Regions from separate parts of the Homo sapiens genome. Here regions 1 and 3 are each linked to region 2. Evidence: promoter capture Hi-C in 16 types of primary human blood cells and fetal thymus (Javierre and others, 2016). All regions are on one chromosome and are shown on one strand. The core of a region is centred on a gene start or on the middle of the fragment in contact, and the rest is flanking DNA. Distances in the headings are between cores, read along the strand shown.

The links. The method cuts DNA at HindIII sites, captures the fragments that hold promoters and counts their contacts. A CHiCAGO score of 5 or more calls a contact.
Region 1: a fragment that was not itself captured here is called in contact with the fragment with the promoter of C1orf220 in region 2 in 1 of 17 cell types (erythroblasts); the score reaches 5.5 in erythroblasts.
Region 3: a contact is called between a fragment that was not itself captured here and the fragment with the promoter of C1orf220 in region 2, in 1 of 17 cell types (fetal thymus). The highest score is 6.8, in fetal thymus.

Annotation. Positions count from the first base shown.
Region 1 is chr1:179,313,569-179,316,268 of GRCh38, reverse strand. All of the region lies in intron 2 of SOAT1 (sterol O-acyltransferase 1), which reads right to left. Among named protein-coding and RNA genes, the nearest start is that of SOAT1, 21 kb to the right of the region's middle. The HindIII fragment of the contact is 1,919 bases long and covers 399-2,317 here.
Region 2 is chr1:178,541,509-178,544,208 of GRCh38, reverse strand. It overlaps C1orf220 (chromosome 1 putative open reading frame 220), which reads right to left and starts at 1,413. Exons shown (of 3, transcript NR_033186.1): 1 at 1,324-1,413. LOC124904460 (a long non-coding RNA gene) reads left to right here and starts at 1,564. Exons shown (of 2, transcript XR_007066748.1): 1 at 1,564-2,175; 2 at 2,383-2,700. RefSeq lists silencers at 1,179-1,248, 1,279-1,608 and an enhancer at 1,659-1,718. The HindIII fragment of the contact is 17,585 bases long and covers 1-2,700 here.
Region 3 is chr1:179,064,926-179,067,625 of GRCh38, reverse strand. It overlaps FAM20B (FAM20B glycosaminoglycan xylosylkinase), which reads right to left. Exons shown (of 8, transcript NM_014864.4): 7 at 767-826. Among named protein-coding and RNA genes, the nearest start is that of TOR3A, 16 kb to the left of the region's middle. The HindIII fragment of the contact is 2,903 bases long and covers 1-2,700 here.

The sequences.
Region 1 (2,700 bases), core at 109-2,608, 770 kb before region 2:
CAATGGAAGCCAGGAGACAGTGGAATGTCTTCAATTATCGATAATGGCAGAATTGATGACTGGGAAGAAGGCTAGGTCATATAATAACAAGGGCTTTGAGGAAACTAAGAATTTTATGCAGGAAAATACTGAGCTGATATTGGAAGATGGAAAGGACCACATAACAGAGAAATGCAATAAATCCGGACAAAAAGTGATGTTGTAAATGGCAAGGAGAATGGAGAGCAGAGGATTAATTTAAGATATTTACAAATTGGTAACTGATTAAGAAATATAAGGGTAAGACAAATGTCCATTTGATTTTTCAATAAGTTAAAGAATATATTTTTAATTTAGTTCTATGACCAGACCATGGTTTCATAAATGAACTATTTCATAAAAAAATGAAGACAAAAGCTTCTTTCCTTCAACTAATTCAGCTACCATGGGAGAGGAGGATTGGTAAGGAGACTGTAAAAGATTAATTCTCACTACTTGTGCATCCCTTCCAAAAAGAATCTGTCTATCCATAAATAACACGACAGCCATCATTACAAACAGGCTTTGAGATGCAGCCACTGGAAAGTTAGAAAAAAGATTTGTTCACAGAGTCTCTGAAGACCCCACTGAAAATGACAAAGTTAAGTAAGTGGAAGAAAAATATATTTTAAAATGCTAATTCATTTTCCTTTACCTTCAAAATACCTCTTCATACAATATTACAAAGAAATTCTTAACTTTCTACAATTTAAAATTTAAAAATTAGATGTCAAAGTCAAAAGAATGCCTAAAAGCTAATATCCACTGCTTTTTTTTTTTTAAGACAGGTTCTCACTCTGTTGCTCAGGCTAGGGGGCAGTGGCTATGGCATGATCATAGCTCACTGTGGCCTGGAACTCCTAGGCTCAAGGGATCCTCCCGCCTCAGCCTCCCAAGTACCTAGGACTACAGGCACATGCCACCACACTCACATGCCACCACACCCACCTAATTAAAAAAAATTTTTTTGTAAAGGCAGAGCCTCGCTATGTTGCCCAGGCTGGTCTTGAACTCCTGGCCTCCAGCAATCCTCATGCCTTGGCCTCTGAAACTGTTGGGATTACAAGGATGAGCCACCATCCCCACCCACATCCAATGATTTGAAGAACTATTTACAAGCACTCAACTCAAGGCTTCTCAATTTCTAAAACACTGACCCTGAAACAATGATAAGCCAGGACTGAGGGTGATGTAATTTCGGAATCATTTGCCTCCCTCTAGTAACACACTAACTGCTAACACTAGGAGTCAGTTATTTGCTATCTGAAACTTAATAGAACCCCGCATAAGTCCATAAGGAAAACTATTCAACATTTTTTCCCTTAAATTTCTGATTTCTAAAAAAATCAGGCTTGCAATACTTATCTTCATGAATAAATGCTATCTCTTTTAAAACCTGCTATACTTAATGGGAATGTTTAAAATTTATTCCTTGACATGTCAAAAATCTTATTTTAACCAGTTTTGATGAAAATTTTTGTAAAATTATGACATGCTTTGCTACCCTAAAAAAAACACCAGACTCCAGGCGTGCTGGCTCACGCCTATTATCATCCCAGCACTTTGTGAGGCTGAGACAGGAGGGTCACTTGAAGCCAGGAGTTTGAGACCAGCCTGAGCAACAAAGTGAGACCCCCCCATTCTCTACAAAAAAATAAAACAAAAATGTACTTTACCCTACATAATCTTCGGAACAAGTAAGAGAGATCCATTGTTGTACCATACTATTATAGTGATATCTTTAGCAAAAACGGAAATGTGGAGTGCAATCAGGCCCCACTCAGCAGTCCTGGGGAGCTGTGCCTTTCTACCTAGGCTGCTTCCACAGGGTTCTCCCTAACAATCGTACACTTCTATTACTATAGTCAATCTACCGCCAAAGCTACACAGAAGAAAAGAGACAAATAACCAGGCTTGTTAAATTGGTAACTAATTTACTCAATTTATATACTCATGCATTAAGTAAAAGCCCACTGAGGACCCAATACATGCAGGGCAAACCCTCCCTTCAGGATCTCAGGAGAAAACTACAAATAGGGAAAAGGACAATACAGAGGAGCGCTGTGGGAGAATGAGGGGTGTAGGAGGCTTTTGCAGGAGTCAATATTTGAACTGAGTCTCAAATAATAAAGAAAAATTATGGTGAACAAATGCTAGAAACATTATTCCAGGCAAAGGAATGAAGCATGAAGACTTGTTGGATTTTTCTGAGGCCTGAAGCTCAGTCAGATGCCTCTTAATGCCATGCTCTCTTTTCTTGACAATATTGTATTTAATAGGCTTTGGCCTAAGGGAAGCTTATCTACTTACTTTCTAGGCCACCAGTTACATTCCTGATCAGTGTCGTCCTATAAACATACAATGTGTGGCCAGGCACGGTGGCTCACACCTGTAATCCCAGTACTTTGGGAGGCCGAGGCAGGCAGATCACCGGAGGTCAGGAGTTCGAGACCAGCCTGACCAACATGGGGAAACCCCGTCTCTACTAAAAATACAAAATTAGCCAGGCGTGGTGGCGCATGCCTATAATCCCAGCTACCTGGGAGGGTGAGGCAAGAGAATCGCTTGGACCTGGGAGGCGGAGGTTGCGGTGAGCAGAGATAGCACCATTGCACTCCAGCCTGGGCAACAAAAGCAAAACTCTGTCTAAAAAAAATATATATATACATATATATACACACA
Region 2 (2,700 bases), core at 164-2,663:
GCAGATCAGGAGCTTGAGACCAGCCTGCCCAACGTGAGAAACCCTGTCTCTACTAAGAATAAAAAATTTAGCCAGGCATGGTGGTGGCACGCCTGTTAATCCCCGCTACTTGGGAGATTGAGGCAGGAGAATCGCTTGAACCTGGGAAGCAGAGGTTGCAGTGAGTCGAGATGGCGCCACTGCACTCCAGCCTGGGCCACAGAGCGAGACTCCGTCTCAAACAAACAAACGACAACAACAAAATGCAAACTCTGGCCAGGCGCGGTGGCTCATGCCTGTAATCCCAGCACGTTGGGAGGCCAAGGTGGGCGTATCACTTGAGGTCAGGAGTTCAAGACCAGCCTGGCGAACATGGTGAAACCCCATCTCTACTAAAAATACAAAAATTAGCCAGGTGTGGTGTCATGCACCTGTAGTCCCAGCTACTCAGAAGGCTGAGGCAGGATAATCGCTTGAACCTGGAAGACAGGTTGCGGTGAGCACAGATCGCGCCACTGCACCCCAACCTGAGCGACAGAACAAGACTTCATAAAAAAAAAAAAAACCCCACGCAGATTGCAGATTCCTGGGCCCCATCTTCGCCTTTCTGAATTGCAGCCTTTCACCCTTTAAGAATGAGAGGGTGAAATCTGCACGTCATACAAATAGCCCAGGGGCTATTAATCTGATGTTGCTCCCCAGCTCCCTCCAACACCGTCAGAGGGTGCACGGATTAGGCCTCTGCTGCGTGCAGAGAAGCATCCTAGGTGCTGCGTGGCTGTGCCAAAGCAGCAGAAACCGGTGGTGTGCCTTAAGATGCATGCTCCAAAGCTGTCCACAAGGCCTCTGGTACAGGCTTCCAGGTCTACGTCTCGGCTTCCCCGACAGTGTCCATGCGACACTGTCACCAGTTTCTCCTCTCACAAGCAGAAAATCAAATTCGGATTGGGCAAATGATTCCCTGCCCGGGTGTGGAATAAGGGTCAAGTCCTAAGTATGGAGAGAGAGCGCCGGCTCCCGCCAGGATATGCGAAGCTCTGGAGGGGAGGCCAAGCCACCAGGCACCCGGCGGGAGAAGAGGAGGCTGGAGAGCGCCGCCCAGTGCCTGCAGGCCGGGCGCTCCACGCCTCCCCTCCCTCCTGCACACCCCATTCCCCTCCGGTTGCCCCGCCTGGGAAGCCCCCTCCCCACACCTCCCGGCCCAGCATCTGCACGAGAGCCGCGAGCCCTGGCCCAGAGCTCTGGGTGGGCCTCTCACCCCAGACGGCGGCCGCAGCCCGTCCCTGATCACCGGCCGCCTGAGCCCTCCGTTCGCTCGGCGCGAGCGCCGCCACCCGTCCTTACCCCCATCCAGTCCGAGGCCAGCCCCGTAGGCTCCGAGCCTGCTCCGTGAAAAGCCTTTTCCCCAGGAGGAGAGTTACTGTAAAGCAAGAGGAAGCCGAGAAGAGGCGGTGGCTGCAGCGCGCGGGGCCCGGCGGGGGCGCGGGGGCGTCGGGGTACTGACTGGGCAGCGCGGTTTCCCCTCATCCCGGGACACGGTGCGGCGCTAGCGCCACCCAGCGGGCGCGGTGGGAATTGCGCTCCCTTCCTGCGCTGGGGCTCTGGACACACAGGCGACCAAGAATGACGCCTGCAGCCGGATAAACGCTCGGGGCAAGGCCGCTATCATCCCTCTGCCGGGAGTGAGTCAAGTCTCAGCAAAAGAAGAAGCCACTTTGGCCAAAATTCCAAGAGTGCTGATGAAGACGGTGACATCTGACATTTCAATGGCACTTTCCATTTCCCCCGGGGTGCGCATTCCGGGCCAGTGGAGCGCTGCGTCGCCTGTGCAGGACCTGGAGGTCTGCAGGACTGTGACCAGTCGGAGTCTCGGAGTCGTGGGTTAAACATTAGTCGGGAGCACTCGTTCATTCCCTGAGCTCCCCTTGCCCTTCACCCTTCGGTCCCGGAAGCCGGAAGGGAGACTGCCCCGCCCCTTGCCTGCCGCCCAGTGGCTCTCCCGGGGCCCTCTTGGCCCCTCTCTCCCAGCCCTCCATACAGTGAAGGGTTGTTTCCGCTGGTGACTTCCACCTGTGGGAGCAGAGAAAGGAAGCGGGGCAGAGGAGAAGGGGAAGGTGTCAGGCGATTCCCCTCCTTGCGCTGCAAGCCGGGTGGGAATAGAACACCTGCAGCCCTCCCCGGCGCCCTGCGAATGAGGTGGGAGTGGGAACGCCATCAGGGCAGAGCCCCTCCAGCTGGCTGGGGTCTGCACCTCCTCGCCAGCCCGGCCACCTCAAAACGGTGCTTGCCTCCCTGCGGGGGTGTAGAAGCCTCTTGGAGCAGCACTTGTAGAAAATCAAGTCCCTGGAAAGAAGCAAAATTAATCCGTTTGTTTCTCTATTTATTTTTGCTTCCCCACACCAGGTATTCACTTCATCCAAGGCTGCCCAATGTCACCTTCCACCCAGAGGAATCTCCCCTCTCCACCCCAGGCCAACAGCCTCTGCCTTCAGCTGTGGCCTCCACTCTGGCATTACTCTGGGCAGAGGGCTCAGGAGGGCTCAAGGAGGACCAGTGACATTCAGAGTGGCCAGAGTAAAGGGAGGGAGGGGGAGTGGTGGGAGAGGCGTGCAGAAGGCACAGGTGAGGTGGCGGAGGGGGGCAGGTGGTGGGGGGAGCGGGCTGGGGTGGGATGGGCCTGTCAGCATAGCAAGGGCTGTGATGGGCTTGAGTCTGACAGGG
Region 3 (2,700 bases), core at 114-2,613, 520 kb before region 2:
TTATTTATTATTTATTTTTTTTGAGACAGAGTCTCACTCTGTCACCCAGAATGGAGTGCAATGGCACAATCTCGGCTCACTGCAACCTCTGCCTTCCAGGTTCAAGCAATTCTCCTGTCTCAACCTCCTAAGTAGCTGGAATACTGGTGCCTGCCACCATGCCCGGCTCATTTTTGTATTATTAATAGAGACGGGGTTTCGCCATGTTGGCCAGGCTGGTCTCGAACTCCTGACCTCAGGTGATCCACCCACCTTGGCCTCCCAAATTGCTGGGATTACAGGAGTGAGCCACTGTGCCTGGCCAAAATAAATTATTATTTATGGAAAAAGTTACTTTTGGTTTAGACAATTTCAAACTGAAATATGTAAACCCCAGGTGGTATGTGATGGGTGAGTGAGAGGAGTTAAAACCACAAGGTAACCAGGTGTAGTAACCAGGCATACAGATTTTACTCCTTTTTTTTTTTTTGGCAGTGGGGTGGGGAGTGTGGGTGATTATATTCTGCTATTAAACCAAACATGTATTACTGTATACATACAATCTTCTATTCATACAAAATTTGAGATGAATTCTGAGCTTTGGGTTATCTGCCTTCACCTTTCCCTGATATCCCATTTCAGGATGTCCAGAGGTTCTAGGTTGGAAAAGTATGAAAAGCACTGCTCAGGTATCAGAAAGTTTGAGGGCCAAGAAAATGGATGTACTGTTACCTGAGCCTGGAAAAGAAGGCAATGCAGGCACATGTATTTGCTGTGCATAACTTACATGCAACACTGATAGAGAGGGGCAAGAATGCTTCTTTCATCCAGCGAGGGGTTCCCAAAGCTGAAAATTAAATTAAAACTTAGTGAATTAGGTGGAAGTACTGTTCTCTTCTTAGCATCAAAGCAATAGCAAATTCTATATGAAACTCAAATGTGATCCTAGATAATTTCACGCTCCAGCAGCTCAAATCACTTAAATTGAAAACAAGCGGGGCATGACCAATTAGACACAGGATCCCTAACAGCCTGTACTAAAATATCTGACAACAAATATACTCATTTACAAGGGACATTTTCCTGCCAAGATATCACAAGGTGCTGGAGCATAACTATGGTAAACACAGTGCGGAGTTCACAGACCAAAGGGAGAACTTGAAGACCCCTAAGCCTGCAAAGGTTTTAAGGACCAGAGAGAAATAAAAGCCATTTATATTAGATTCCCACAAACAAGCAGATGACCATTACTTGTAAAAAGAAGTCACACTTATTCTACTCCCAAATTAGCAATATCCTATTCCCTACAAGTAAGTATAAGTACAGATTCAAATTGGAAAAACTGTTCACACAGGCTGAGGAAACTGATTCACAGCAGATGCAAAAATTACCTTAGCAGCAATTCAGAGTTAGAAAAGGAGAACTGATTCTGGAAAACTGTCAACCTTTCAATCTTTCCAGAGGCTCACCTTAATAGCTAGAGTCTGGTAGCCCTTAGTACAGTGTAGGTCCTCCAGTAATTCAAGGCAAAGGCAACTGCTATGGTCTGAATGTTTGTGTCCCCCTCAAATTCGTAATCCCTGGTACAACAGTCCAACAGTATTAAGAAGTAGGGCCTTTGGGAGATGATTAAGTTACGAGGGAAGAGCCCACATGAACGGGATTAGTGCCCTTATAAATGAGGCCAGAGGGAGCGTGTTTACCTCTTCTGCCATATGAGGACACATAGAAGGCACCATCTGAGAAACAGGCCCTCACCAGACACTGAATCTGCTGGCACCTTCATCTTAGAGTTCCCAGCCTCCAAAACTGTAAGCAATACATTTCTGATGCTTATGAATTACCCAGTCTAAGGGATTTTGTTATAGCGGCCCGAGTGGACAAAGCAACTATTTTGATATACACCAAATATCAAGTATCATGTGTATCACAGGATGAGTGCTATGTGCTTTGCTGTAATGGGGTAGAGGGAGAGGCAGTGTTTGCTGGTTTTTCATTTTCTGTGGCCATCACCATCTTTCACAAAGCATGAGGCGCCTGGTGTTCAGTATAAGATGGTGGCATCATTAGCAAATGCTGCCCAAGCACTCTTTGCTGAGGAGCCATGTCTTAGCTTATTTCCAACAACCAATGTTAACAGTAGTGACCTAGGGCCTGGAAAATTCTGTACTCCAAGGAAGCGTTCTATTTAGTAAATATTTATTAAATGCAACTAAAAGTGTGGCACTACACCTGTAATCCCAGCACTTTGAGAGGTCGAGGCAAGCAGAGCACTTGAGGTCAGGAGTTCAAGACCAGCCTGGCCAAAATGGCGAAACCCTGTCTCTACTAAAAATACAAAATTAGCGAGTGCCTGTAGTCCCAGCTACTCAGGAGGCTGAGGGTGGAGAATCGCTTGAACCCAGGAGACAGAAGTTGCAGTGAGCTGAGATTGTGCCACTGCACTCCAGCCTGGGCAACAGAGCAAAACTCCGTCTCAAAAAAACTTAAAAAAAAAAAGTGTGGCACTAAACCGGCCACCACAGAGAATGCAGAATATGAAATGGAAATACAATGTGCTCTCCAAATAGCTCAGGCCTAAAAAAATAAGGACATTCTATTTATTCAAAATGAATAAACATTTTTTATTCAAGATAAAAGTAACTTGTTGTTATATATAAAATCCACACTAGGCAACAGCTCTTCTTCCCATGACAGCAAAAGTATGGACCTAGACAAACA